7 separate regions of the Homo sapiens genome follow, and all the other regions are linked to region 4. Evidence: promoter capture Hi-C in 16 types of primary human blood cells and fetal thymus (Javierre and others, 2016). All regions are on one chromosome and are shown on one strand. Each heading gives the region's core, a stretch centred on a gene start or on the middle of the fragment in contact. The rest is flanking DNA. Distances are from core to core; before and after follow the strand shown. Region 1 has its middle 5.0 kb from the start of ATG7. Region 2 overlaps LOC124909347 (a long non-coding RNA gene). Region 3 holds the start of OSBPL11 (oxysterol binding protein like 11). Region 4 holds the start of ACTR8 (actin related protein 8). Region 5 holds the start of MSL2 (MSL complex subunit 2). Region 6 has its middle 4.5 kb from the start of TAMM41. Region 7 holds the start of NDUFB5 (NADH:ubiquinone oxidoreductase subunit B5).

Region 1 (4,229 bases), core at 1,172-3,671, about 43 Mb before region 4:
AAAACACGAAAATTAGCCGGGTGTAGTGGCACATGCCTGTAATCCCGGCTACTTGGGAGGCTGAGGCAGGAGAATTGGTTGAGCCTGGGAGATGGAGGTTGCAGTGAGCCGAGATTGTGCCACTACACTCCAGCCTGGCCAACAGAGTGAGACTCTGTCTCAAATAAATAAATAAAAAATAAAATAAAATCAAGTTTGTTACACACAATACATACAATAAAATGCACCCATGTTAAAAGCAGAGTTTGATGAGTTTTGATGAATGTGTATACCTGTGTCAGCCCTACCTCATTTAAGCTGTAGAACATTTCTATCACCCCAGAAAGCTCCTCATGCCCATTTGTTGACCATGCCCCACTCTGCTCCTAGGAATGACTGATCTACTGATCTGACTTCTATCACTGTGTCAGAGGCATTTGAACCAGAGCAACTCCATGTCAAGTAGTGGCTGAGTAAAGTAAGGTTGAGACCTACTGGGCTGCACTCCCAGGAGGTCAGGCATTGTTGTTCACAGGATGAGGTAGGAGGTCGGCACAAGATAGAGGTTACACAGACCCTGCTGATAAAACAGGATGCAGTAAAGAAGCTGGCCAAAACCAAGGAGTGATGAAAGTGACTTCTTGGCTGGGCATGGTGGCTCACGCATGTAATCCCAGTACTTTGGGATGCAGAGGTGGGAGGGTCCCGTAAGCCCAGGAGTTTGAGAAAGCCTGGGCAATGTAGAGAGACCCTGTCTCAATTATTTTTTAAATAAATTAAAAAAAAAAAAACCTGACCTCTGGTCATCCTCACTGCTGATTATACGTTAATTATAATACATTGGCATACTAAAGAAAACTCCCACTAGTGCCATGACAGTTTACAAATGCCATAGCAACTTTGGGGAGTTACCCTATATAGTCTAAAAAGGGGGCCGAGCATGGTGGCTCACGCCTGTAATCCTAGCACTTTGAGAGGCTGAGGCAGGTGGATCACCTGAGGTCAGGAGTTCAAAACCAGCCTGGCCAACATGGCGAAACCCTATCTCTACTAAAAATACAAACATTAGCTGGGTGTGGTGGCGCATGCCTGTAATCCCAGCTACTTGGAAGGCTAAGGAAGGAGGATCGCTTCAGCTCCAGAGGTGGAGGTTGCAGTGAGCCGAGATCACGTCGCTGCACTCCAGCCTGCGCGACAGGAGCAAGACTCCATCTCAAAAAAAAAAAAAAAAAAAAAGTGGGGAGGAACCCTCAGTTCCACGAAATATCCACCCTTTTTTAGCATACAATCAAGAAATAACTGGCCAGGTAGGGTGGCTCACACCTGTAACCCCAGCATTTTGGGAGGTGGAGGCAGGCAGATCACTTGAGGCCAGGAGTTCAAGACCAGCCTGGGCAACATGGAGAAAACCCATCTGTACTAAAAATACAAAAATTAACCAGTTGTGGTGGTGTGCATCTGTAATTCCAGGTACCAGGATGGTTGAGGCATGAGAATCGCTTGAACTCAGGAGGCAGAGGTTGCAGTGAGCCAAGATCACACCACTGCACTCCAGCCTCGGTGACAGAGTGAGACTCTGTCTCAAAAAAAAAAAAAAAAAAACAAGTATAGGTATATTCAGTCAAATAGCCCATAACATTGCTCTGCCTATGTAGTAGTTATTATTTTTTATTCCTTTTTTTTTTTGAGACGGCGTCTTGTTCTGTCACCCAGGCTGAAGTGCAGTGGTGCAATCTTGGCTCACTGCAACCTCTGCCTCCTGGGTTCAAGCAATTCTCCTGCCTCAGCCTCCCGAGTAGCTGAGACTACAGGTGTAAGCCACCATGCCCGGTTAATTTTTTATGTTTTTGTATAGACGGGGTCTCACCATGTTGGCCAGGCTGATCCTGAACTCCTGATCTCAGGTGGCCTGCCCGCCTTGGCCTCTCAAAGTGCTGGGATTACAGGCGTGAGCCACTGCACCCAGCCCTATTCCTTTTCTTTCTTAATAAACTTGCTCTCATTTTACTCTACGGACTTGCCCAGAATTCTTTCTTGTGAGAGATCCAAGAACCCTCTCTTGGGTCTGGATCGGGACCTCTTTCCGGTAACAACTATAGCGATTAGTTTTGCTGATTTTAGAACTTTCTATCAGTAGAATTATTTAATATGTACTCCTTTTTTCCATCAACATTTTGTCTAAGATTCCCCCACACTTCAAATGGGTTGTGAAGACTGAGAAAGGCTTACACAAGCACAGCAAGTGTGAGAGCATTGCAGGGATGGAGATATAAAAGAGCAGTGTGTGCTTGACCAGAATTAGTTTAGTGTGACTCAAGCATGCAGTTTGAGAGGGCAACGGCAGGAGAGGAACCTGATATAGTCAAGAGTTGGCAGTGTTGAATTTTACTTGGACTTTTTGCTCTTGGAAAACAGTAATGTTACTGGAAAGGGGTCCTGGCTGGGTGCAGTGGCTCACATCTGTAATCCCAGCACTTTGGGAGGCTGAGATGGGCAGATCACTTGAGGTCAGGAGTTCGAGACTAGCCTGGCCAACACAGTGAAAACCCGTCTCTACTAAAAATACAAAAATTAGCTGGGTGTGGTGGCGCATGCCTGTAATCCCAGCTACTTGGCAGGCTCAGGCACGAGAATCACTTGAACCCAGGAGATGGAGGTTGCAGTAAGCCGAGATCGCGCTACTGCACTCCAGCCTGGGTGACAGAGTGAGACTCTGTCTCTCTCTCTCTCTCTCTCTCTCTCTCTCACACACACACACACACACACACACACACACACAAAAGAAAAAAAAAAGAAAAGAAAAGGGGTCCTGATCCAGACCCCAAGAGAGACTTCTTGGACCTCACACAAGAAAGAATTCTGGGACAGTCCATAAAGAGAAAGAAGGTTTATTAAGAAAGCAAAGGAGGCTGGGTGTGGTGGCTCACGCCTGGAACCCCAGCACTTTGGGAGGCCGAGGCGGGCGGGCCACCAGATGTCAGGAGTTCAAGATCAGCCTGGCCAACATAGTGAAACCCTGTCTCTACTAAAATATAAAAAAGTAACTGGGCTTGGTGGCTTGTGCCTGTAGTCCCAGCTACTCGGGAGGCTGAGGCAGGGGAATCGCTTGAACCCAAGAGGCGGAGGTTGCAGTGAGCCGAGATCACGCCACTGCACTCCAGCCCAGTGACAGAGCAAGACTCTGTCTTGGAAAAAAAAAAAAAAAAGAAAGAAACCCCATTTGTATTAAAAAAAAAATACAAAAATTAGCCAGGCATGGTGGTGTGTTCTTGTAATCCCAGCTTCTAGGGAGGCTGAGGCAGGAGAATTGCTCACCATATTCTAGGAAGGCTGAGGCAGGAGAATTGCTTGAAACCAGGAGGCAGAGGTTGCAGTGAGCAGAGATGCGCCATTGCATTCCAGCCTGGGCAACAGAGTGAGACTCCATCTCAAAAAAAAAAAAAAAGAAAAAAGAAAAAAAGGGAGTAAAAGAATGGCTACTCCATAGGCAGTGTGTGGTGGCATGGGCTGCTCAATTGATTATGCTAATAGTTACTTCTTGATTATATGCTAAACAAGGGGTGGATTATTCATGAGTTTTCTGGGAAAGGGGTGGGCAATTCCTGGGACTGAGGGTTCCTCCCCTTTTCAGACTGCATAAGGCAACTTTCTGACATTGCCTTGGCATCTGTAAAAGGTCATGGCAATGGTGGGAGTGTCTTTTAGCATGCTAATGCATTATAATTAGCGTATAATAAGCAATGAGGATGACCAGAGGTCACTCTCGTCACCATTTTGGTTTTGGTGGGTTTTGGCACGTTTCTTTAGCACAACCTTTATCAGCAAGGTCTTTGTGACCTCTGTCATACCCTGATCTCCAGTTTTATCCTGTGAGTAAGAATGCCCAACCTCCTGGGAATGCAGCCCAATAGGTCTCAGCCTTACTTTACTCAGCCCCTATTCAAGATGGAGTCATTCTGGTTCAAATGCCTCTGACAGTAAAGGTTAAGAAATCCTTCTTGGCCAGGTGCAGTGGCTCACGCCTGTAATCGCAGCGCTTTGGGAAGCCGAGGTGAGCAGATCACCTGAGGTCAGGAGTTTGAGATCAGGCGGGCTAACATGGTAAAACTCCGTTTCTACTAAAAATACAAAAAATTAGCCGGGTGTGGTGGCATGCACCTGTAATCCCAGCTACTTGGGAGGCTGAGGCAGAAGAATCGCTTGAACCCGGGCGGTGGAGGTTGCAGTGAGCCAAGATTGCGCCATTGCAC
Region 2 (3,972 bases), core at 916-3,415, about 39 Mb before region 4:
ATGATCACTTGATGCCAAGAGTTCAACACCAGCCTGGGCAAGATAGTGAGACATGTTTCTACAAAAAAAAAAAAAATTAAATACCCAGGCAGGCCACCAGCAGCATCAGGCTCATGCCCAGCTGAGAAAAGACAAGTCTCTATCCCCTCATCCCCAGCAGCAACCCTGAGATGTGCGCTCTGGCCGAGCAGGCACAGTGCCTGGAGGAATGCACCACACCTACTGGCTCAGACTTGGGTCATGTGCTAAACCTGAGTGGGGAACCTCAGCTGGACAAATGGTGGGAGGCTAGCTCCCCAGACAAAAATCGGGGGTTCTTGCTAGCAAAGGAGGGTGGGATGCTATCAAGACAAACCGTAGCCATCTACTGCATGTGTCAGCCTCATGTTGTGGCCCAGGGAGCTTTGCATGGAGCCTGGTCCTGGGTGCTTTCACCTGGGACCCCATGTCCCTGCCCTGACCACTGACCCCTTCTACAGATCAGTCTTGGAAGAATGGGTTTAATACCACCTGCTTGTGTGTTGTGAGCATTCAGTGGAGCATGTCAGGAAATGCTTAGTTCATTGTGCAGAGGCAAGTCTTTATGCCACCCAAGTCATCTGCTCCTCCTGGATCCAGGAGCCTTGCAGACAGGCTGGGGCCATGACACTGAGTTCTGGCCAGTGGAATGTGGATGGCAATAGTGTACACAATTGCTTCCAGACCTGGCTATCAAACAACCCATGCCATCTTCTGTGGTATCTCCCTGGCCTATGATATGGAAGCAAAGGGCTCTGAGATGGTGGAGCCACCTGATGCAGTAAGTCCCAATACCTGGGTGCTGTGGTTTGAATAAGGTGACCTGCAAAACACATATTGAAGTATAATTGCCATTGTAACAGTATTAAGAGGTGGGACCTTTAAAAGGAGATTAAGCCATGAGAGTGGGATTAATGCTGTCATAAAAGGGCAAATTCAGCCCCTTCTTGCTCTCTTTTGTCCTTCCACCTTCAACCCTGTACAGACAAGATATTCTTCCACCATGTGATAGTGCAGCAAGAAGGCCCTCACCAGACACGAGCACCTTGATCTTGGACTTCCCAGCCTCCAGAACTGTGCTAAAATAAATTTCTGTTCATTATAAATTATCCAGACTGTGGTATTTTGTTATGGCAGCACAAACAGACTAAGAAACGTAGTCACCATGTGTAGGAGAGCAACAAATAAACCTTTGATATGTTAAGTCAGTGGTTCTCCAAGAGGCAATGTCTGGAAATATTTTTGGTTGTCACCACTGGAAGTAGGGTGGGGAGCTAGTACTGGCATCTAGTGGGGAGAGACCAGGGATGTGGCTGAATATCCTACAATGCACAGGACAGCCCCCACAACTAAGAATTATTCAGCCCCAAATGTCAGTAGTGCTGAACTTTAGAATCCCTGCTCTAAAATGTGGGCACCTTGAGAGACGGATGTTGTCATTGTCCTTCTGAAAACCTTCCAATGGCCTCTATCACACTCAGGATAAATTTCCAGTCCCTTACTTTGATCTACAAAGCCCCACAGGACCTGGATCCTGCCCACCACCCCTCCTACCTCACATCCCACTTCTCTTTCTCACCCACTTCTGGACCTCTTTCCAACCTAAGGACTTCATACGTGCTGTTAAATCCTTAAACACATTTCTCCCTGTTCTTCCAGGTATTCAGTTATGGCTTAAACATCACCTCCTCTGAGACACCTTCACTCGTCACAGTCTGTATTAGATTCATTCCCACCTCTTGATTCTCTATTATCGCACCACATTGCCATGATCCTTTCACAGCAATGACCGTGATGTAATGTGCCCTGCTTCCTTGTGGGGGTGTGGTAGGGGTGGTGTCTGCCTTCCCTCTGGAGTGTGAGGAACATGAGGACCAGATAAATAATGGATAGAAAGAGCCATCTTTGCAGTCAGACAGCCCTGGATTTTACTTCTTGTTCCAGTACCAACTGTGAGTCCCTTCACTCTCCCGGCCTCCATCTCCTCATCTGCAGAATGGGAATAAGAATACTCACAGGTTGCTGTGAGGATTAAATGGGATAGTGTAAAGAGAGCACTTGGCCCAATTCACAGTAGAGAACAGTCACTTAGAAAGTGTCTTGACTATCAAATGCATGAATAAAAGTGTAAGCACAGTCAAGTCCCTGCATGCTGTTGTTTTTAGGGATGAACTCTTGGGAGGAAGGTGGCATTGGGGTGCCTGGGTGGAGGCTCCTTGGAATGGAAGGATGAAGAAGGTGTGTGCTTGAGAACAGAGCTCGGTTTCCCCAGGCAGCTTCTGCATCTACCTCTCTTGACACAGCACCACAGGGGCTGGCAAGCCCTCATTCCTCCTTTAAAACTGCGACCCTAGCTCCCATCCTTCAAGTCACTGTCCCCAGGACTGTTCTCCCTGATGCCTCTCTCTTGCAGGACCCAGGAGGGAGGCGGCCACCGCTGTTATGGTCCTTCTTTGGAGAAACACACCCCTCCCCCCAAGAGTGCCTCCTAGCACTGTCTCTATCTGTGTCTGTCTAGACCAGGCAGGAAATTAAAGTGGGTATCAGGACATTTGCAACAAATAGCTCAGGCCCCAGGCTGAGACCCACGTGTCTACAAAAAGGAATGTGATTGAGGGACCTCTTTCTTTCAAGTACAGTCTCATATCAGACTGTTGGGGCCACACAGAAACTTGGATTGTTTCCATCTCTGCATGTATGAAGGGTAAAAAGACAGCAGGGAGGATGCAGAGATGATGGTGAACCAGGGGAGACAGGTCCAAGAGCCCTGTCTCCTGGGAGAGGCAGGGGACTGCGAGCTTAGGCGCTCCCGCATCGCTGCAGGTGGGCCAGTGGAACTCCCTGAGCCTCCATTCCCTCATCTGTGAGGTGGACATGTTAACATACCTGCAGCTTAGGCTGCAGTGAAACATAAACGAGTTAAAATATGTAAAGCACTCTGATCTTTATGCTTTCCTTCCTTCTCCTGATTTTGGGCTTAGTTTGTTCTTTTCCTAATTCCTTGAGTTGTAACGTTAAGTTACTTATTTGAGATCTTTCTTCTTTTTTTGATGTAGGCACTTGTTATAAATCTTTCTTCTTTTTTGATGTAGGCACTTGTTCATTGCAGCATTATTCACAACAGCTAAGATATGAAACCAGCCTAAGTGTCTATCAATAGATGAGTGGATAAAGAAAATGTGGTGCATATATGTATGCAATGGAAAATATTCAGCCTTAAAAGGTGGGGGGAATCTGTCATTTTTGACAATGTGGATGAACCTTGAGGACATTATGCTGAGTTAAGTAAGCCAAGTACAGAAAGACAAACACCGCATGATCTGACTTACTGTGGAATCGAAGAAAGCTGAACTCACAGAAGTGGAGGGTGGGATGGCGGTTAGCAGAGGCTGTGGGAGAGGGGTGGATGGGGAAAGGAGATGTCGATCAAAGGGCACAAAGTCTCAGTTGGACAGGAGGAATAAGCATTAGTGATCTACTGCACAGTACGGTAACTATAATAAATAGAAATGCATTGCATATTGCAAAATTGCTAAAAGTAAATTTTAAATGATTTAACCACAAAAAAGAGGTATGTGAGGTGATGGATTTGTTAATTAGCCCAGTTTAATCATTCCACATTGTCAACATCTATCAAAACATCACTTGTACCCCATAAATATGTACAATTATTTGTCAATTAAAAATAAAATTTTAAAAACTATTTACAGTGCCTCTTGAGAGTGGGCTGATCTAGGTGACTTGCTTCCAAAGAGTAGATAAGGAAAGTGGGGAAAAGTGACTTTACAGTGGAGAAACCTGGCAGACACTACCTCGAGCCAGGTGACCAAGGTTACTATCCGTGAAGTCATTTCAACAGCACATACCCCTGATATGATGCGATGAAGATGCCACTTCACCTCTGCGGTGTTCCTCCCCAAAACTCATGATCCCATGCAAACTCTGAGAAAAATA
Region 3 (4,222 bases), core at 1,218-3,717, about 72 Mb after region 4:
TCTCCGAGACTTTCATTGTGGACACTGGTTCACCCCCCTGCATCTTAACGCCAAAGTCCACTTGCCCTTCTTGAGCGGGAGAGAACAATTCTGTAGTTCTGTAGGTGACTTTTTTTTTTTAAGATTTGATCTGAATATGATACCGGTTGCTAAATCACACGGCGGCTGGGGCGGGACTGTCAAATGGTCCAGAAAAGGAAGATACACATTCCCACAGAAGTTAAACTTTTGAGAGGGCAGGGGAAGCAACGAGGACAGATATCCTTCACATGTATCTCTCTCCTTTCCGGCAAAAGCAAGGAGGAAAAAGCATCCGGCGAGAAGACTTAAGTGACATACTCAAAAGAGAAGGAGTGTGGGGAGGTCGCAGATTCTGTAGCCAAGACGGCTGGGAAAAGGACGGAGCGCCACGGACAGGGGACCCGCGGCCTAACCTCGGGGCTGACCCGCCGCGCTCCCTCGTCTCCTCCGCAGGTCCTCAGGCAGTGCGTCCAGTCAAGCCCGCTCGGCAGTTCCCGCCGCAGCCCCCGAGATACAGCCAGGGCCGGCGCGCGCAGCCGGGGAGGAGGGTCGGGGAATGAGGCCGCCGGGGGCGGGACGCCGGCTCCCGGGGCCGCCTCTCCCAGGGCCAGAGGCGAGCCACTCGGGACAACTTCCTCTTATGCCCCTGGCCCGGGCCCTCGACTGGGTTCCCAGGAGCCGGTGAGTCTCTCGCGCTATCTCCAGACCCAAGCGCGAATGCCAGGGCCGCGGCCGCCGCCCCACCCACAGCCCCACAGCCCCACAGCCCCACAGCGGGTCAGCCACCCCCCGCCCCCTGCTCCCTTCCCGCCTTCCCTTCCGGAGTAGCGTGAGCTCACTTCCCTCACAGCCGAAGCGTCTGGCGCCATCTTGGGTCAGGGCGGCGGGTCCCTGAAGGAGGCGGAGGCTCTGGGAGCTGGTAGCTGGGCGACTGGCTGATGGGCGAGGGAGGGCGAGGGAGGGCGCCGCAACGGAACGAGGAACCCGGACAGTGAAGGAGGAAGAAACAAAGGAGCCAGCAGCACTAGAGAGTTCCCTTCTGGTGTGTGAGTGCCCGCCTTCCTTTTTTTTTTTTTTTTTTTTGAGACGGAGTCTCGCTCTGTCGCCCAGGCTGGAGTGCAGTGGCGCGATCTCGGCTCACTGCAAGCTCCGCCTCCCGGATTCACGCCATTCTCCTGCCTCAGCCTCCCAAGTAGCTGGGACTACAGGCACCCGCCACTACGCCCGGCTAGTTTTTTGTATTTTTAGTAGAGACGGGGTTTCACCGTTTTAGCCGGGATGGTCTCGATCTCCTGACCTCGTGATCCGCCCGCCTCGGCCTCCCAAAGTGCTGGGATTACAGGCGTGAGCCACCGCGCCCGGCCGAGTGCCCGCCTTCCTAACCACGTCCTAGCCTTCCATTTGAGGGGCCGTTCCAGGCATTTTAGGAAGAAAGCTTACAAAAATAAGAAAGTACAAGAACGAAGCAAACATCTGTACGTTTTAGTTACTTGGGGTGGGGGGGGGGCAAGCATGACATTGGAGTAAAGCCAATCATTATTATAAATTAAAAAGAAGCTGTCATGGAAATTAGAGATCTCAGAACAGAGCTAGGTACTCTTCCAGACCCCAGACAAATCTTTCACCTTGTTTAGGCCTTGGTTTTGGATTTGTAAAACAAGAGTGCATGGGTAGATTTCTAAAGTCTCTCCTAATTGCTAATTTTAGTTTATAATAACATGACTTGAGGCTGGGCACAGTGGCTCACGCCTGTAATCCCAGCACTTTGGGAGGCCGAGGTGGGCGGATCACTTGAGGTCAGGAGTTCGAGACCAGCCTGGCCAACATGGTGAAACCCATTCTCAACTAAAAATACAAAAATTAACCGGGCATGGTGGTGCGTGCCCGTAATCCCAGCTACTTAAGAGGCTGAGACAGAAGAATCACTTGAGCCTGGGAGGCGGACGTTGCAGTGAGCCTGAGGAAGGAGAGAGACCCTCTCATATTGTTTTATACTCAGTACCTGTTTTAAGAAAAAAAGAAACAGCAAGGAAGTAAAACCAAAGACAGGCAGCCCAGCGCCAGGCCGGAAACCAGGCCTGGGCCTGCCTGGCCTAAACTCAGTAGTTAAAAATCAACTCATAACTTAGAAACCGATGTTATTCATGGATTCCAGACATTGTGCAGCAGAACATTGTGAAACTCCCTGCCCTGTTCTGTTTCTCTCTGACCACCGGTACATGCAGCCCCTGTCATGTACCGCTTGTTTGCTCAAATCAATCATGACCCTTTCATGTGAAATCTTTAGTGTCGTGAGCCCTTAAAAGGGACAGAAATTGTGCACTTGGGGAGCTCAGATTTTGAGGCAGTAGCTTGCTGATGCTCCCAGCTGGATAAAGCCCTTCCTTCTACAACTCGGTGTCTGAGAGGTTTTGTCTGCGGCTCATCCTACTAAAAGCTGAGATTGCGCCACTGCACTCCAGCCTGGACAACAAGAGCAAGACTCAGTCTCAACGAAAGAAAGAAAAAAACAAAAACCGGCCGGGCATGGTGGCTCACTCCTGTAATCCCAGCACTTGGGGAGGCTGAGGTGGGCAGATCACGAGGTTAGGAGATCGAGACCATCCTGGCTAACACGGTGAAACCCCATCTCTACTAAAAATACAAAAAATTAGCCGGGTGTGGTGGCGGGCGCCTGTGGTCCCAGTTACTCGGGAGGCTGAGGCAGGAGAATGGCATGAACCTGGGAGGCGGAGCTTGCAGTGAGCCGAGATTATGCCACTGCAGTCCAGCCCAGGCAACAGAGCAAGACTCTGTCTCAAAAAAAAAAAAGTAAATAAATAAACCTACCGTACAACCCAGCAATCCCACTACTGAGTATCTATCTAAAGGGAAAGAAATCAACATATCAAAAGGATACCTGCTCTCACATGTTTACTGAAGGACTATCACAATAGCATAAATATGGAACCAGCCTGTGTCCATGAACAGATGAATGGGTAAAGAATTTGTGGTATGTAGGCCAGGCACGGTGGTTCACGCCTGTAATCCCAGCACTTTGGGCAGCTGAGGCTGGTGGATCACCTGAGGTCAGGAGTTCGAGACCAGCCTGGCCAACAGGGCGAAACCCCATCTCTATTAAAAATACAAAAATTAGCTGGGCATGGTGGCGCACACCTGTAATCCCAGCTACTCTGGAGGCTGAGGCGGGAGAATTGCTTGAACCTGGGAGGCGGAGGTTGCAGTAAGCTGAGATCGTACCACTCCAGCCTGGGTGACAGAGTGAGACTCCATCTCAAAAAAAAAAAAAAAACAAAGACAAATAATGGAAAGCCAGGTGTGGTCATGCACACCTGTAGTCCCAGCTACTTGGGAAGCTGAGATGGGGGGAATCACTTATGCCCAGGAGTTTGAGGGTAGCCTGGGCAACATAGAAGACCTGTCTCTTTAAATAAATACATAAATATAAAAGTGGAAAAAAGCTTGTGGGATAAAAATATAAAAAACATGATTCTAAGTGAAAGATGCAAGACGCAAAAATGTCACATACTGTATGCTTCCATTTATGTGAAATGTCCAGAATAGGCAAATCCATCGAGATAGAAAGTAGATGAGTGGTTGCTAGGGATAGGAGAAAGGAGGAATGGGAAATGACTGCTAATGAGTATGGGGTTTTCTGGGGGTGGGGGTAATAAAAATGTTCTAAAATTCGATAATAGTGATGGTTGTACAATCTTGTAAGTATATGAAAACTCGATTGTATACTTTAAATGGGTGAATTTATGGTGGATGAATTATATTGTGATAATGCTATTTTTTAAAAAACAAATTCTCTAGCTGCATGGAGAATTAATTTTAGTGGGAGAAAAAGAGGAAGCGGGGCGACTAGGTAGGAGGATATTATAGGGAATGAGGGCAGAGATCATAGCGGCTTGGACTAGAGTGGTGGCAGTGGGGATAGAGAGAAGTAAATGGATCCAAGCTGTGTCTGGGATGGGGCTACAGTACTGCAAATGGACTGGATTTGCAATAGTGAAACTACCTTTGCAAAATTATAACTAAGGAAATTATGACAGTGAAAGAAATCAGACCTGACTCCATCTTGCTTCTAGCCTTTAAGCTGTCCTTGTTCATTCCTGGACACAGGCCAAACTAACTTTAGGAAGGAATTCAGTTCATGGTTTTACTCTGAAACAAAATTGATAATCGCCCTTTCCCGAAA
Region 4 (3,821 bases), core at 1,201-3,700:
GTCTTCCATTATAGATCACCTTCATCCACACTCAATTCACCCTGAAAGACTTACTTTTGTTGTAACTAATTCTTTACATCTAAAGTCACTAGCTCTGATGAAAAATTAGTGACATTATTAATGTTTTAAAACACAGCAAAGCTATGAAGATGTTTCTTTAAGATTCTGGTGTACTTGTGTCTAAGCCCTCCCAGGGAAACAACCTTAGGCTTTCTCTCCAGGTCGTTTTTGACTTACATTTAGTCCCTCCCTTAGGAGCCAACTGTCCTTGTATAGGGGCTGCCCTTGTTGTTTGTGTCTTCGGGCAATGACGTGAGGAATGCTGGCAGGAAGAGTGTCTGTGGCTCGACCAATCCTTAAAGTTGTTGAACCTGGATGTATGACAATGATGAAGTTGCTCTGGATTTGCTGCAGATATAAAACATAGATGTGTGACTTTGTAAATAATATGCAGGTAACAAAGTTAAACAACATACACATAACAAGCTAAACTAAGAAGCTGACTCAAAGGTATCAAAATAATTCAATAAAGTTCTTTGAGAAGTATCCAATTACCGCTCTCTACCTAAACACAAACTCATTGTTTATTATGTTCCCTTGACCTGAGTTATAGTACATAGCTCAACAAATATTTGTTTAAATAAATGAAACAAAAATTGTCCACTACAAATTAACATACAGTTATTGAGCATTTATGTGACTGAAGAAATGTTGCTATAGAATCCGGGCCCAGGCTCTGAATTCACGGATCTGTCTGCAAATTCAGACTGCCACTTCCTTGCTCTGAATGAAGCTCCTAACTCACAGTTACTGTGAGAATTAAATGAGTTATACATGTAACTCAGAGCTGGGCCACAGGAAGCATTCGAGGAATGTTGGCTCTTACTATAGTAAAGCCTTTCAACGTGATCCACTGCCTTCACAAGAGGTCAGACTCTGTGGCTTACACGACCCTCATGATATGGCCCCTGCTAAGATCTTCAGTCCCCTTCCTTAACTCCAGACATCCTAATCTACTGGCTGGGCCTCCAACACTTCACATCCTCTGTTGGCACAAGTGTCTTCCACACTGTTCTTCTTCCCTGAGATTCCCTCCTCCCTCTGGTTAGCTCCTAATCACCTTCAGGACTCTAAACAGATGTCACCTCACCTCCTTTGAAGAAACCCTCCCTGACTGTCGGGGATGGAGGAGGTACTTGCTTGAGTGCCCAATACTGCCCTCTGCACAAGCCCATTCCATGCCATGCTCTGATACCTGTTGTCCTATCTCCAAGTGTGACCTCTCTCCTCCTAATCACCCCCCACAGAGTGGGAGAATCCTAGAGGGAAGGATCTGGCAAGGCCCTTACAGACCATCCAGTCAGCCTTCTCAACTAGACAGATGGAGAAACCAGGCCTGTGCAACAGTAATGGCCACTCTGGGCTTACGGTGTGCCAGGCACTGTCATACTAGTGATAACTAACTAGTAGCTGCCCTACTAGTTAGGTATTATCCTTAACCCATCTACCGGTAAGGAAGCTGGATCAGAGATGTCCTACATGAATTTCTGAGCAGTTTATGCCTCATTTCTTCTGTGAATTGTACACTGCCTGTGCCCGTTTTCCTACGTGAATGCTGTTTTAGTTACTGATCAGTAAGGTTTTGTGTATGTGTATACATCTAAGGTCCTCTGCCAGGCACGCTACTGCAAATAATTTTTTCTGGTTAGTTTAGTTTGGTCTAATAGTGTTGTTTTTGATACACAAGCTCTTAATATATATTTAGACAAATGTCCACCATTTCCTTGCTTTTAAGCTTGAAATGACTTCCATTATCTGAGATTTCCTTAACAAAGGAAAAAGCCTGGACCCCAAACTATCCCTTAACAAGCACAGGCTGACGCTCCCAGTGAGCCAGCCTGGTCCTAAACTCTATCTGCCACCATTTAACCCTCACGGCAACTTGCGAGGCGGCTGGTTATCACCGTGGTCGTTTTATGGTCGGGGAAGCTGAGGCCAGAGCCCGGGCAGGAGCGCACACAACCAGACGGTGGGGCGTGCGGGAGATCGGAGCGGTGTCCCTGCGGGGGCTCCGCCTGGCTCCTGGCGCTCCGCACCTCCCAGCCCTCGGCGTCCCGGCGCGCCACCACCCGGAAAAGAACGACCGCTTCCGCACTCCCCCCACCAGGGGCTGGGGCCTGCAAGGGGGACTCGAAGCCTCCCGCCGCCTCCCGCCCCTTGCCTGGCAGCGGAGGACCCAAGCAAGGGCAAAGAGTTCCAACCCAGCCAGAGCCGCACCTCTTGCAGCGACTCCGGCACCAGCGCGGGCACGATGGGCCGCTTCACGCCGCGCTGCTCCTTCTCCTTCTCGCCGCCCTTCTCCTTTCCGTTCTCCGTATCACCCTTCTCAGCCTGGGTCATTATGGCCGGAGACACCCACCAACCTCTCGCCTCAGCGCTGCAGCCACGACTGCCGGGATGGAAGGGCCACCGCGCAGGCGCACGGCCGGCTGCCCACAGTCAAGATGGCCGCCGCGGAGTCGCCCCAGAGGGCTCCGAAAAGGCGGGGGTGGGGCTGCCCGGCGCAGGGGCTGGGGGCGGGGTGTGCATGCGGATTGATTGGGTGGGTGTTGCTGTGATTAGTCCTGACTGTGTAGATGCCAGCAACATAGTACACATAGCTTTTCGAGCGCCTAGTGGGGGTCGGCTGATAACCCGCATCTTATTTCGTCCTCACAGGCATCTCTTCTCCTGGCTTCCCAGATACCATATGTACTCTTAGTTTTTCTCATATGTCTTCATGTTCAGTCCAGCCTCTGATGTTGGGGTTAGGTCTTTTCCAGGCACACTCCTTGGGTGACTATCCAGTTTCCTGGCTTTAGCAATGAATACGATTCCCAAATATATATATCCAGGATGAACCGCTCAGAGAGATCCGTACTGATAACCAGTGCCTACTTGGTCTCTCCATCTGGATTGTCTACAAGGCACTGCAAACTTAAATATGTCCAAAATTTAACTCTTGATTCCCTCCCCTCTCACTTTCACCATCTCAGTAAATGTCATTTTGATTCTTCACTTGTTGACAGCTTCTACATCCAATCCATCAGTAAATCCTGCAGTCTCTAAAATAGATCTTGAATTCATCCACTTCTCCATTCCCATGCCACTACCTAGCCCAAGCCACTATCATCTCACCTGGATGACTACAACAGCCTCTTAACTCGAACTCCTTGTCCTGTCCCCCTATGATCTGTTCTTATATAGTTGCCCACGTTGTTTTAAAATATTACGTAGTTAATACTACTATGTACCCAGCACTCCACTAAGACTTACCTCAAAAATTAGATGTCACTCATGCTTTAAACTCTAATGGTTTCCCTTTGCTCAAAGAACAGAATCTAAACTAACCACCACCTAAAGACCATATCTAGTTATTGCTACATTTCTAAGTTCACCTCACAACACTCTCCCCATTCCTTGGCATTTCCAGCTACACCTGTTTTATCTTTCTCAGACATGCCAAGCCCTTCCCGTCATCGGGCTGTTGCACTTGCTGTTCATTTTGCCTTGGATGCTCTTCCCTCAGCTGTCTCATTCTCACGTCTGAACTCAAATGTCACCTCAGGCCTTCCGCAGTTATTCTCTCATCATCCTATTCCCTTTGAAGCATGAAGCATTAGTCTGTAATTATCATGCCTGCTCACTGTCTCCCACACTAGAATGTAAGCTCCGTGAGACTTTGCCAGTTATCTTCAGCACATGGTAGGTGCCCAATAAGCATGTGATGACTAAATACTAAATAAAGAACTCTTGGAGGTAAAAATTTAATCCCCGTTTTA
Region 5 (3,911 bases), core at 1,392-3,891, about 82 Mb after region 4:
ATCTAGCCGAAAATTATCATTTTACACATCAAGAAACTGAGGCCCAGGGCAGTTAGGTGATTTGCCCTGGGCGACTATTCCTCTAAGGTGTTAAGTGTCTGTCACCAGTCAGAGTAGCACTTAATGACTTACTCAGTTACTTAAATGTTTATGACCTTAAGTACCTGTCTTGCAAAAAACACCACCGCCACCTCTTCTGCACCCATTCAGTGTCTTGCTTCAGGATCTAGATAGAGAATGCTGGATAAACCTCAAATGAATATTATTTCTCCCTTCAGCCACAACTGTCCCAAATTACTCTTCTTCCTTTATCTACTTTTAAATAAAGTGGAAACCTTAACGTGCCTGAATTTCCCAGGTTCTGACTAAACAAGTGGATCATCAAAACTTCAAAATTTAGGATAGAATATTAAGTGGAGCATGCATATTACTGCTTTGGCAGTTGCCCTTTCTTTTGTATTAACGTTTCAGTCCAGGTTTTTCGAAAAGCAAGTAATTATTACACACGCACAGTTAACATTCAAATTATCACTTTTGAGATATTTTCCTTAGACAATTTAGCATATCTCTTCTATCTTAAAAATTAAAGTATCCTACCCACCACGAGTTAATTTTTTTTAACAAAAACATCTAAAATAACCCTCGACAAAGCCAAAGTATATTAAACCACAAAATGAAAAAGTGGTAAGTAAAAGTCTCACCAGCTAAAAAGCACTTCGAGTACCAACAGCCTTCCCCGGCTCGCTGTTAACCGTCAAACCGTCAAAGCATTTGTGGAGGAACCTGGGGCAAAGTTCCGCGCCGGGTTCTCCAGCTGTGGGTTCATCAGCTTAGCCCACCACTCCCACGTAACACCAGTTTGGGGAAATGCAAACACGCCACATGTGCCCACATGTGCATGTTTTGATCATGTTTAACCACTTTTAACCGCCGTAGGTACGTAATCAGCTCCCGCGGCAAAGGTTTAAGAAAAAAAAAAAAAAAGCCTTGTGCATGCATCTTACCCCCACTTAAACCACCACCACCAGATGAACCGAGGCGAATTAAACCATTTTGAACGTTAACGCCGCTGCACAAAGCGGTATGAAAGGGTTCTCTGCCTTTCTGAAACGCCGGGCAAAAGTCCCTCAGCAAGTTTCAAAACTAATGACCGTACAGCGCTGCACAAATAACAAAAGCTTAATACCAACCACCAGGCCGTCAACCCGCTCACGTTACCACTGCCCAGAAGGCTTTTAAAAACAAGCATTGAAAAGGGAACAATAAAAAGCGTCTCACCGCAAACACAGCACGAAAGGGACTGTCGGAAGTAAGGCAAGAGCCTGTTAATCTCAGTAAACGCCTTGGGGTCTCCGGGGTCGTAGTTGAGCACTAGGCGGCTCGCGGAAATGTAGAGAGCAGTAGCATTCACGGGGTTCATTGCAGACACTTCGACACCAATGGCTCCCGGTTGAAAAGAAATTCCGGATCCAACTTAGTAAGCAGCCAGGGAACGATGGCGAATTTGCAACAATTCGGAAGAAATCAGAGCCGAACCATTGGCCAAACAAGTAACCAAAATCCGTGCAAGTTTGTGGAGCTGAAACAATCCTCCCACACATGGGGCCTTGGCGCCCCTCCGTCCCTGAGACTTCCAGACCAAAAATATGAGAGAGAAACCAGCGTTCGAGTTCGTCCGGAGCGACCACAGAGCGCAGAACGCGGCGGCTTGGGCGCTCGGGGCGGGACTCGGAGCTCAGTCTAGCCCCGCGGCTCGGCAGGCGGCCTGCACTCGAGCTCCATCTCCGGACACGGAGGCGCCTCCTCAAGTCGAGCTGGCAGGCGCGGGAGCAGGCCCCGGCCCCGTCTGAGGCGCGGCACGCTTCTCCCGGGCTGCAGGGCCTCTTACTCCATCCCAGTACAGGGCGCGGAGGCGGCGGCGACGGCAAGGACGACGGTCGGGCAGCGGCTTCCCGGATCTAGTGCAAGACGCCGCGGCGGCGACGAAGGTTGATGTTGCGGCTGGCGGACGCCGCCGCCGCGCTCTCCATATCGGACGCGGGGCCCAGACTGCGCCCTGGCTCTCCGCCCCGTGGGTTGCAGCCCGCAGTTCCCCGAGGTGGCGAGGCGGGCGGGAGTCCTCAACCCGGAGGGGAAGGCCGGGGAGGAAGTGCGCGGGCCGCCGCCGGCGGGCGGGAGGGGGCGGGGGGCAAGCCCGGCCGGGCCGCGGCGGCGCCCCTCGCGCCTCAGTCGCACACTCCGGGGTCACCAGACTCAAGCGCCGCCCCCTCACTGCCCGGCCATTTTTTCGGCGCCACACACACAGACGACTCCTCCGCCGAGCACGACGGCCGCCGCCGCCCTCAGCACTCCCCGGCCGCGGAAGGCAAGCGCTCACACCGCCAGGCCCCGCCGCCGCCCAGCGCACACAGCAAGGCCCCGCCGCAGGCCCCTCCCCCGTGCCTCGCCGCCCTCACCCCGACTCCACGCGCCACTCCAGCTCGGTAGGGCCCGGGCTGCTGCGGCCTTAATGGATCCCGCGGGCTGTGTGGCGCCTCAGGCCTCTGCTGGCGGCGACGACGACCGTTACCCCAACGGGCAAAGCCACTGTCATCCCCGAGACTCCCCCGCCGCCGTCGTCGCTAGCGCTCGCACGCATGCGCAGAGCACACTCTCACCCCTCCCCCCTTTCCTCTCCCTTCGCTTCCCTTTTCCCTTGCTTCTCCTCTAACAACCCCCTCCACAGCCTCCCAGAGCTACCGGCTCACTCCACGCATGCGCAAGCTGCTACCTAGCTCCGCCGCCTTTCGCCCTTCCGCGTGCGCTTTGACCGCCCACCCAGAAAACCGGATAAACACATCAGCCTGCTCGCGCCAGTCCCTCACCGCTGCCAACCCACCCTGGGCTCACTGCGCATGCCTGGCTCTCCACTTCGACTCTCAGAATGGAGCATGCTCTCTGCGAGCCGACAGCTCTCTTCGCCCCTCCCCCACGTGCTCTCAAATTCCCTCTCCCAGGCATGTGGGCTGTGGTGAAACATTCGTTAGCTGGCACATCCTTCCCCAGTGTGGGCTGCAGGCTTCCCGCATTACACTGCTTCTGTGCCCGCCAACGCCGGGGCCCGACTTGGTAGCGCCATGTGGCGCTCTGCACTGGCCTGAACGCGGCCTCTCGTCCTGACTGACCGCGGTGTGAGGAAATAGCCGCGCCAGGCCCCAAGCCCCGCCCTCGCGGCCTTTCTCCTGGAACCGCTCATCCCGACCGCGGAAAGGGCGCAGCCTCGGCTGGCTGGCAGGCTCTCGCCGAGCCGGGAAGGCTGCAGTAGTCAACGTGGCTGCGCGCCCAGCAGGCGTGCGGACGGCTTTTGCCGGGTCGGGGCCGCGTTCCGCACCTCTCTGCGGTGGTTCGCAGTCAGAGGGCTCTAAGGCCCTGGCAGGCTGTATGTAAGCGTGGAGGCTCGAACCCACTGCCCCCTCCTACCCGTCGGACCCGCGCTGTTCCCACGGCCTCTGGCCCTTGGACTCGTGCGGCCTCACCTTCATGGGTGCCGATCAGGACTTCACCGAGCTCTCACCGGAACAGAGTCCTGTTTTAAAAACAAAACGAACTCCTTTTTTTTTTTTTTGAAAGACCTAGCTTTTTTAAAAGACCTAGCTCTTCTGTGTGAACAGATGTCTTGAAGAATGCGTGATCTTGCTCTAGAACAAACCCAAATCCTTGCAAATGTTTTGTTTTTTAAAACAAGCTTTTGCCTTTTGTTTTTGCAGGAGATCAAGGGCACTGGGATATAAATAAACAAAAGCCTGACTTAGTAGATGACTTCCCTCCCATCTCAAAGTACAAAACCTTTTTTTGAGTAGCACAAATAGTAACAGGCCATAGGAAGCATTTCTTATCTCTGTACACACCAAAGCTCCTCAGCATAATTTTTC
Region 6 (4,222 bases), core at 491-2,990, about 42 Mb before region 4:
AAAGTAATCCATGTTCATAAAAATGTAAACATTATGAAATACATACATCATGCCCCAGAAATAGCCACGGTAATCTTTGGCACATATTCCTTCCAATATTTTTCTATGAATATATTAACATTAAAAACAATTTTAAGTGGATTCCTAGGATAGATACTATTTTGCAATTTGCTTTTTTTGCACTTAGCGTATCAGGGACAATGTTCTGTGTCAGAATATATAGATTTCCCTCATTCCATGTATTAGTAGCAAATTATTCTAAGATATGGATATGCCATAATTTTGTTTAAAATTTTTTGTTTAAAAGAAAGTGTTTAAACATTTTCTTTCTCTTTCTTTCTTTCTTCTTTTCTTTTGTTTCTTTCTTTTTTTTTTTTTTTTTTTGAGAGCGAGTCTTGCTCTGTCACCCAGGCTGGAGTGCAGTGGCACAATCTAGGCTCCCTGCAACCTCCACCATCCGGGTTGAAGTGATTCTCCTGCCTCAGCCTCCTGAGTAGCTGGGATTACAGGTGCCCGCCACCACATCTGGCTAAGTTTTGTATTTTTCGTAGAGACAGGGGTTTCACTATGTTGGCCAGGCTGGTCTCGAACTCCTGACCTCAAGTGATCCACCCGCCTCGGCCTCCCAAAGTGCTGGGGTTACAGGCATCCTGGCCTGTTTAAACATTTTATTGTTGATGGATGTAGGTTATTTCTAGTTTTCACACCTGCAAACAATGCTATCATGAGCATCCTTGTACATTTTATGTGCATGAACAAGTATTGCTATAAGACAGATTCCTAGAAGGGGAATTGCTGGGTCAGAGTGTCAGCACGCTGCTAAATTCCCCTCCAAAAGATGGTGCCAATTCACACACCCACCAGCAGAGTTCAGCCCTTGATAGAAATAAAGATGCTGCAATGTTTCTCCATTTGTCTCCCTTACAGGCGTTCACACCCAATTATCAGCAATTTTCATGTTCACAAACACTTTTCTTCCTGCAATGCAAAACCACCAGCTGGAAGGTTCCATCACATTCCTGTGTGCATTTTGCCTTTCCCCAGAAAGAGGCAGAAGCAACGTAGCCACGAACACATTTGTATTCTTCAGCAGAAATCTCCCTGCTCCTGGCCCTTCATCCACCCACTCTCTTTTAAATTACCATGGCTTGTGAAATTAGAGGCTATTAGGAAGACCCAGTGTTCTATATAATCGCTTTAGGGTTCTGTTGGAAAGCTTATACCAATGAAATAAACATGTTAGAGAGCCACTTACAAATATAGATAAATGCCTGGTGACTCGAGTGAATATTGGGCCTCATTCTTCTGATTTATCTAGCAGTTGTCTTTGTATTCCTTAATAATGACCTTGTCAGGCTTTCACTAGGAGAAGGTTCATCGAATCCATGTAATCCATTTTTTTTAAAGCCCTGTAAAAAAACATCTATGGCTTTAATGCTTTTTTTTTTTTTTTCTAATCAGTGTTTAAGTACAGGAGAGAAAAATGTTTGGGGAAGAATAAAAATCCAGGCTCAGTGGTTCTTACAATTAGCCACATGTTCAATTGGTCTGCTGATGGAGGGGAAGGAGAGGGGTCTTGATCTCCATCTTGTCAGAGGTGGGTCACCCTGTCCCATTTGTCCATTCTCGGCTGATTGATGGTTAGAACTGGGACAGACTGGGAGCATTTTTTCGTTTTTTCTTTTCTTTTCTTTCTTTTCTTTTCTTTTTTTCTTTTCTTTTCTTTTTTTTTTTTTTTTTTTTTTGAGACAGGGTTTCACTCTGTCACCCAGGCTGGAGTGCAGTGGCACGATCTCGGCTCACTGTAACCTCTGCCTCCCAGGCTCGAGTGATCCTCCCACCTCAGCCTCCTGAGTAGCTGGGATTACAGGCATGTACTACCACACCAGGCTAATTTTTGTATTTTTGTAGAGAATGGGGTTTCACCATGTTGTCCAGGCTGGTCTTGAACCCTTGAGCTCGAACAATCCACCCACCTAGGCCTCCCAAAGTGCTGGAATTACAGGCGTGAGCCACTATGCCCAGCCAACTGAGAGCATCTTAATACATCTTTAGTGTCTGATCAGGGGCTTGAAGGTACCACCTGGGTTGGAATCCAGGCCCCAGGATTTAATAGCTGTGTGACCTTGGACAAGAAGACTTAGCCTCTCTGTGCTTTCCTTTCCTCATCTGCAGCCTGGGGAGAGTAATGACACCTCACTCACAGGGTTGTTGTGACAGCAAATGAAACAGTATCTAGAAAGTACATAGAATAGTGCCTGGAGTAAGCTTTCAATAAACGGAGGACATCCTCCTGAATTCTTAAGAGACAATGTACAAAAGGAATTAAGAAGCATAATTATACCTACATCTTTATGGCGTTTAGCATTTTACACAAAGCACTTTGCAGACATGATTTTATTTAGCTCTTAAAACAAATCCTGGGAAATTAGTAGCTACTATTTCAGTTTTACAGATGGATAAACTGAAGCTTAGAAAAAAGAATTGATGTGCCTGAAGTCACAGGGCTAATGGCAGCTGCTAATACAGCCTCCAAGTCCAATCCCTTTCCTCTTGCACGAGAAAAATAACACGGGGTGTTCATTTCACCAAGGGACCCATTCATTCATTGATTCATTCTCCCATTGAAACCTTCCTCATCCTTTAGTCCCAGCTCAGCTATCAAAGTGTTCTGTTCTCTGTGCCTTCCTAACCCTTTGCTTTTAGCTCTCTAGCTCTTGTCTTAAATATCAGATATGTCCATCAAGTACAATTATAAAAGGCTTAGGGGCCCTTTGAGGTCAGGAACCATATCTTATTAATCTTTCTGTCCTTTAGTGCCTAGTACAGTGCCTGAAACAAAATTTCTGCATTTGCAAATGTTATAGTCTGGTGGCAAAAAATTCACATGCATGCAAAAAAAAATACACTATGGAGAGTATAAACCAGATCTATACCACCGCAATGGTAAGACAGCAGGGGTTACTTTTTCTTCAGGGTTTCTGGGAAAGCTTCTTAGAGGGATGACATTTGGATTAGACCTTGGAAGATGACCAGCAGTTCACCAGAGAGTACACCGTGAAAAAATTCTAAGAAGAAAGAATTGCCTCCATACTGGGTCTTAGAATCCTCCTTCTAGGGGGACACTGAGTTTTCCAGTGGAGTTCAGGAAGACCATGGACTTTTACAGTACCAAAGAAATGAATAAATAATGGTGGAATTCCAAAGAACAGAGCAGGTATCTCATCTGAGAGGCAGAATGTGGAATCTGGATTGAGACTGCTTGGTTTCAATTCTCAGCCACTGATGATCTGTGTGACCTGGTGCAAGTTGGCTCTGTGTCTCAGTTTCCACAAGTATAAAATGGGGATAATAAGAGCGTCTACCTCCCAGAGTTGTCATGACAACTAAGCTGGTTAGATCAATCTCTGACATGTAGTGAGTACTACGTATGTGTTTACCCTTCTGATTCTCCACTATCCCTGAAATTCAAGCTGGTCAGCAGCTGCCCACTTTATCTCTCTGTAGAACTGGCCCTGAATTTTGGGAGAAACTGAATTGGCAAAGAACTGAGTTAGAAGAGAAAGAATTAGTTACCATATACCAAGTCTGTCTCTGGCATGAACCCCTGCGATCTGGGTTTGGTGTAAAGCAGCTTGTCCCAAGGAGGGTTATTTGATAAAAAATTCTATCAGCTAAGTTTGGGAAATTCTGGATTAAACAGAGGCAAATCGAGATCTTTGATGTGGGATTCCTCCGAGCATTAATATATTAATAAGCATTGTGAATCTCCAAGAGAGAAGCAGAACATGTAGCATTTTCCAATCTCCCAGACTAGGTTTTCCTCCATCCTCTGCTCCCTCCACCTTCTCTCTCAGTGTCTTCTGGGATTCATATTCTGTGGCATAAATTTAGGAAGCGCTGGTGCCAAGCACTCCCTTGCTGTCCCAGAATCATCTCAGTGTCCCAAACCAATCAAGACTAATTTTCACGGACCTCTTTTGCCTGAAGGCACCAGGGGATCCTATAGCCTAAGAGAGAGATTGGGGAATTTCTCAACACATGAATTACGGTTATAACTTGTGGGTGTAAAAAGCCAAGAATTTCTACGCTTTGGACTCTGAGGATGTCTTTGTTCAGACCCAGAACTGACAAAACTCTAGGTACAATCTTCCTAGACTTACTTCCTACAAAGCGTTTAGAATGACACTTTCCAAACCTCCAGGGTAACCCTTTTGTGAAG
Region 7 (3,811 bases), core at 1,156-3,655, about 130 Mb after region 4:
TGAAGTTTATCACAAGTGTTGTATCCCTACCAAAAATATTTAGCCTAAATCTTATAATGAGGAAACAATCAGACAAATCCAAATGAATAAGATTCTTAAAAAGCTAATCTCATCAAAATGTCAACAACATTAAGAAAAAAAAAAAAAAGAAATTGTTCCGGATAGAGACTAAAGAGTCATGGCAACCAATGTAATAAATGGATACTTCACTGGATCCAGGACCAAGAAAAATAAATAAATAAAAGAAGTTACTAAGTTACCAGTTACTTTCATTGTAACACATCCTGTAAATACAAATATCTCTTCTTTTTTAATCCATCCAAACTTGACACAGACTTGAGTATCACAACAAAAACATCTTCGGTAAAGTTTTTCGCACCTCACCCAGCCCAAGAGGATGCTTCTGTACTTATAGATGTATTTACTTCAACAAATGCTGGACATCTACAAACCCCATATACTGTCTTGTCCACAGCAGGCAGCAACAAAATGAGGAAGGAATAGAAATGTCGGAGGTGAGCGACTTCTCCAAGGTCACTCACTCCTCACCAAAGTGGGCTCCGGCTCTGCCATCCAGGCGGCCGTTCCATTCTTGAGTTGTTCTCGGCATCTCGGCATCTCGGCAACCAAACAAGATCCAAAGTTGGAGAGGTGGGCAAACCTACTTTATACATCACTTACCCTGTGCAGGCAGGGACCTGAGGAGTTATTAACGATCGGGAAGATTTCAGGGCGGATGAAACTCTCCTACAAAGAAGGGCCAAACCGGCCGCAGCCATGTTTTCGCATAACTGGCAAAACGCGTTTCCGCCAACGATAGCGTCACTTCCGGCGTCTCAAGCCGGCGGTGAGGAGAATAGAAAACTTGCCCTCACTTAAGATGGCCACATCCTGCCTTTGTCCTCATTGGTAAATTGGCTCTCTCAGCTTCCGTGACCCGCCTCCCTTCTTCCTCCTGCCCGTAGTAGCCATGGCGGCCATGAGTTTGTTGCGGCGGGTTTCGGTTACTGCGGTGGCAGCTCTGTCTGGCCGGCCCCTTGGCACTCGCCTCGGATTTGGGGGCTTCCTCACTCGTGGCTTTCCGAAGGCTGCTGGTGGGTGCTGGCCTAGGGAGAACGGGCGTGAAGCGGGTGCGGGGCGAGAAAAGGGAGGACGCTTCCAGGGTGACCTTGGTGGGATCCGGAGGGAGCCGGGACAAGTTGTGGGCTTGGGGCTTGACAGGAGAGACGGAGCACGAGCTATATGAGGGGTTTTCCTGAAGTAGCCAGATAGATCGTGTTTACATTATTAGCATTTCTAAAACGTTGTTATTCACCATCCCAATTAATGCTAATTTGCGGATGAAGCTGAGTCTAGAAAGGTATAGAGCTGAGATCTGTATCTCTAGGGCACAAGCTTATTGTTGCGTTCCACCTGCCCAAAGGCTAGGTTCTAGTCCCACAGATGCAAAGTCATCTTGCCGAGAAGCCCACCTATGCTAAGGAATATGAAGACAGGTAATATGTAGACAGGTAAAGAGGCTCAGGGCCAACTTATTCTTTAGGCACAGTAAGTACCGTGCCGCCCAATAATGAGATGCAGATGAACTGGGGAGGAAGAGAGGTTTTTGTTTTGTTTTGTTTTGTTTGTTTGTTTTTTGAGACAGAGTCTCACTCTGTTGCCCAGGCTGGAGTGCAGTGGCGCGATCTTGGCTCACTGCAACCTCCGCCTCCTGGGTTCAAGCGATTCTCCTGCCTGAACCCATGATAGTTTTAGGGGTCTACGAAAGTCTTTTAATTTAAATTTCTTTTTTAAAAAAACCATAATGTTTATGAATATGATAACGAATCCAGCCTGTATTATGTTCGTTTTATACCAATGCAGTCATAAAATATTATTTTTAATAACTTAGACGAAGGGGCCCTTGAAGGCAAAAGTGCCTAGGTCTCAGGAAAGTCATAATACAGTCTTTTTTTTTTTTTCTTTTGAGACAGTCTCACTCTGTCACCCAGGCTGGAGTGCAGTGGCACCATCTTGGCTCACTGCAATCTCCACCCCCCGGGTTCAAGCGATTCTCCCGCCTCAGCCTCCCCAGTAGCTGAGGCTACAGGTGCACACCACCACGCCTGGCTAATTTTTGTATATTTAGTAGAGATGGGGTTTCACCATGTTGGCCAGGCTGGTCTCGAACTCCTCACCTCAAATGATCCGCCCACCTCAGCCTCCCAAAGTGCTGGGATTATAGGCGTAAGCCACTGCACCTGACCAATACAGTCTTAATAGGGCTATTTGGACCTCCTTGGAGACAGTGAGTTGCATCATGGCGGTGTGAATAATCATAGCAAAGATCAAATGCTTGATATTCAGTGTACTTTATTATCTCAGAGACTCTGCAAAGAAATTACAATGTTATTTTCATTTTACAGATGAGGAAACTGACTCAATTATTAAATAATGTGTCACTAAATAATAGCCAACATTTACTGAGCACCTGTTACGTGTCAAGCATCCTTTTTTATTTTTATTTTTTTCAAGACGGAGTCTTGCTCTGTTGCCCAGGCTGGAGTGCAATGGCGTGATCTTGGGTCACTGCAACCTCTGCCTCCTGCGTTCAGGCGATTCTCCTGCCTCAGCCTCTTGAGTAGCTGGGATTACAGTTGCACGCCTCCATGCCCGGCTAATTTTATGTGTTTTTAGTAGAGATGGGGTTTCATCATGTTGGCTAGGCTGGTCTCGAACTCCTGACCTCGTGATCCACCTGCCTTGGCCTCCCAGAGTGCTGAGATCACAGGCGTGAGCCACCCCACCTGACCTCAAGCATCATTTTAAGGGTTTAAAGTATTAATTTATTTAATCCTCTTCATTAGATATATACTGTAAGCTATTTGCCCTGTGCAATAGAAGCAGGTAAAGAGGAAGTGAAACACTTAAAGTCAGAAAGTTGTCTCCAGCCTCAAAATATCTTGTTCTCTTTTTACCCCTATTCTCCCAGTTTAATTTGAATTATGCCACTCCACAGGATGAGGCAATATACATAGGGATTTGCTGGAAACATGATGCAAAGAACCAGTGGTATTTAACAAATTTCCAGCAGGAATTTGAACTTGTTACAAAACTACATTCCTTGATGAAAATCCCTTTATAAGCCATTTCTGATTACAGATATTCTCATATAGCCAAATACAAATCCTTCAAATACTCGCTCTGGTAGTATTCAATCAAATCCAGCTGGAGATAAACTGCAGCAAAATTTCACCCCCAGTTTCTCTTTCCACATTATTGCCCTTTCTTGGGGTTCTCAAAGGATCATTACCGTGTTCTGCGCCCTTTCCAATCAGAGCAGGGAAGGTTCTAATAGCTATGTTTACTAAAGGTTACTGTGTTTTCAGCTGTGTACCTGCTTTCAAAGGTATTTTGCATCTGTCACTGTGATATGAAAGCTTTTAATCTCTTACATGGTTGTTTATATCTGTCCCTACAAGAATGTAAGCTCTAATGTAGTAGAGAGCCTGTCTTGTTTTGTTTTTTCTGGAGATAGACTGCCTATCTTCAAATTCTGGCTCTAGAATTCAGAAGCCATGTCTGTGATCATCACATCTTGGAAGCTAAAGTGGAAGACACCTAATTGCTCATAACCTGCATTTCCTCCTCTTTAAAAAAGATGAGAATTTTAACCTGCCTCAAAAGGTAGTTGTGAAGAGTGAGTGGAAAAAATCAACAGTGCCTGGCAGCAGTAGCCTTTAAAAAAATTGTGGTAAAGTACACATAACATTTACTATTTTAACCATTTTTAAGTGCACCGTTCAGTGGTATTAAATACATTCCTAATGCT

The links. Contacts are between HindIII fragments. The CHiCAGO score rates a contact against its expected background, and 5 or more counts as called.
Region 1: a contact is called between a fragment that was not itself captured here and the fragment with the promoter of ACTR8 in region 4, in 1 of 17 cell types (non-activated CD4 T cells). The highest score is 6.7, in non-activated CD4 T cells.
Region 2: a contact is called between a fragment that was not itself captured here and the fragment with the promoter of ACTR8 in region 4, in 1 of 17 cell types (total B cells). The highest score is 6.9, in total B cells.
Region 3: a fragment that was not itself captured here is called in contact with the fragment with the promoter of ACTR8 in region 4 in 1 of 17 cell types (naive CD8 T cells); the score reaches 12.6 in naive CD8 T cells.
Region 5: a contact is called between the fragment with the promoter of MSL2 here and the fragment with the promoter of ACTR8 in region 4, in 1 of 17 cell types (total B cells). The highest score is 6.9, in total B cells.
Region 6: a contact is called between a fragment that was not itself captured here and the fragment with the promoter of ACTR8 in region 4, in 3 of 17 cell types (naive B cells, total CD4 T cells and activated CD4 T cells). The highest score is 8.2, in naive B cells.
Region 7: a fragment that was not itself captured here is called in contact with the fragment with the promoter of ACTR8 in region 4 in 1 of 17 cell types (non-activated CD4 T cells); the score reaches 11.6 in non-activated CD4 T cells.

Annotation. Positions count from the first base shown.
Region 1 is chr3:11,265,283-11,269,511 of GRCh38, forward strand. No RefSeq gene overlaps it. Among named protein-coding and RNA genes, the nearest start is that of ATG7, 5.0 kb to the right of the region's middle. The HindIII fragment of the contact is 5,434 bases long and covers 1-4,229 here.
Region 2 is chr3:14,641,368-14,645,339 of GRCh38, forward strand. It overlaps LOC124909347 (a long non-coding RNA gene), which reads right to left. Exons shown (of 2, transcript XR_007095826.1): 2 at 3,607-3,972. Among named protein-coding and RNA genes, the nearest start is that of CCDC174, 8.4 kb to the right of the region's middle. The HindIII fragment of the contact is 9,073 bases long and covers 1-3,972 here.
Region 3 is chr3:125,594,758-125,598,979 of GRCh38, forward strand. It overlaps OSBPL11 (oxysterol binding protein like 11), which reads right to left and starts at 740. Exons shown (of 13, transcript NM_022776.5): 1 at 1-740. The coding sequence starts at 43. RefSeq lists an enhancer at 288-347 and a silencer at 448-857. The HindIII fragment of the contact is 2,026 bases long and covers 1,455-3,480 here.
Region 4 is chr3:53,879,702-53,883,522 of GRCh38, forward strand. ACTR8 (actin related protein 8) reads right to left here and starts at 2,451. Exons shown (of 13, transcript NM_022899.5): 1 at 2,278-2,451; 2 at 238-408. The coding sequence starts at 2,400. RefSeq lists silencers at 2,078-2,187, 2,578-2,667 and an enhancer at 2,338-2,417. The HindIII fragment of the contact is 9,111 bases long and covers 1,794-3,821 here.
Region 5 is chr3:136,193,694-136,197,604 of GRCh38, forward strand. MSL2 (MSL complex subunit 2) reads right to left here and starts at 2,642. Exons shown (of 2, transcript NM_018133.4): 1 at 1,279-2,642. The coding sequence starts at 1,420. RefSeq lists enhancers at 1,430-1,499, 1,550-1,599, 1,599-2,345, 1,650-1,719, 2,346-3,092 and 2 more and a silencer at 2,060-2,449. The HindIII fragment of the contact is 2,546 bases long and covers 1,177-3,722 here.
Region 6 is chr3:11,849,282-11,853,503 of GRCh38, forward strand. No RefSeq gene overlaps it. Among named protein-coding and RNA genes, the nearest start is that of TAMM41, 4.5 kb to the left of the region's middle. The HindIII fragment of the contact is 1,052 bases long and covers 1,215-2,266 here.
Region 7 is chr3:179,603,846-179,607,656 of GRCh38, forward strand. It overlaps NDUFB5 (NADH:ubiquinone oxidoreductase subunit B5), which reads left to right and starts at 949. Exons shown (of 6, transcript NM_002492.4): 1 at 949-1,094. The coding sequence starts at 971. MRPL47 (mitochondrial ribosomal protein L47) reads right to left here and starts at 793. Exons shown (of 7, transcript NM_020409.3): 1 at 682-793. The coding sequence starts at 779. RefSeq lists enhancers at 83-949, 875-1,074, 950-1,816, 1,255-1,414, 1,445-1,534. The HindIII fragment of the contact is 2,024 bases long and covers 1,394-3,417 here.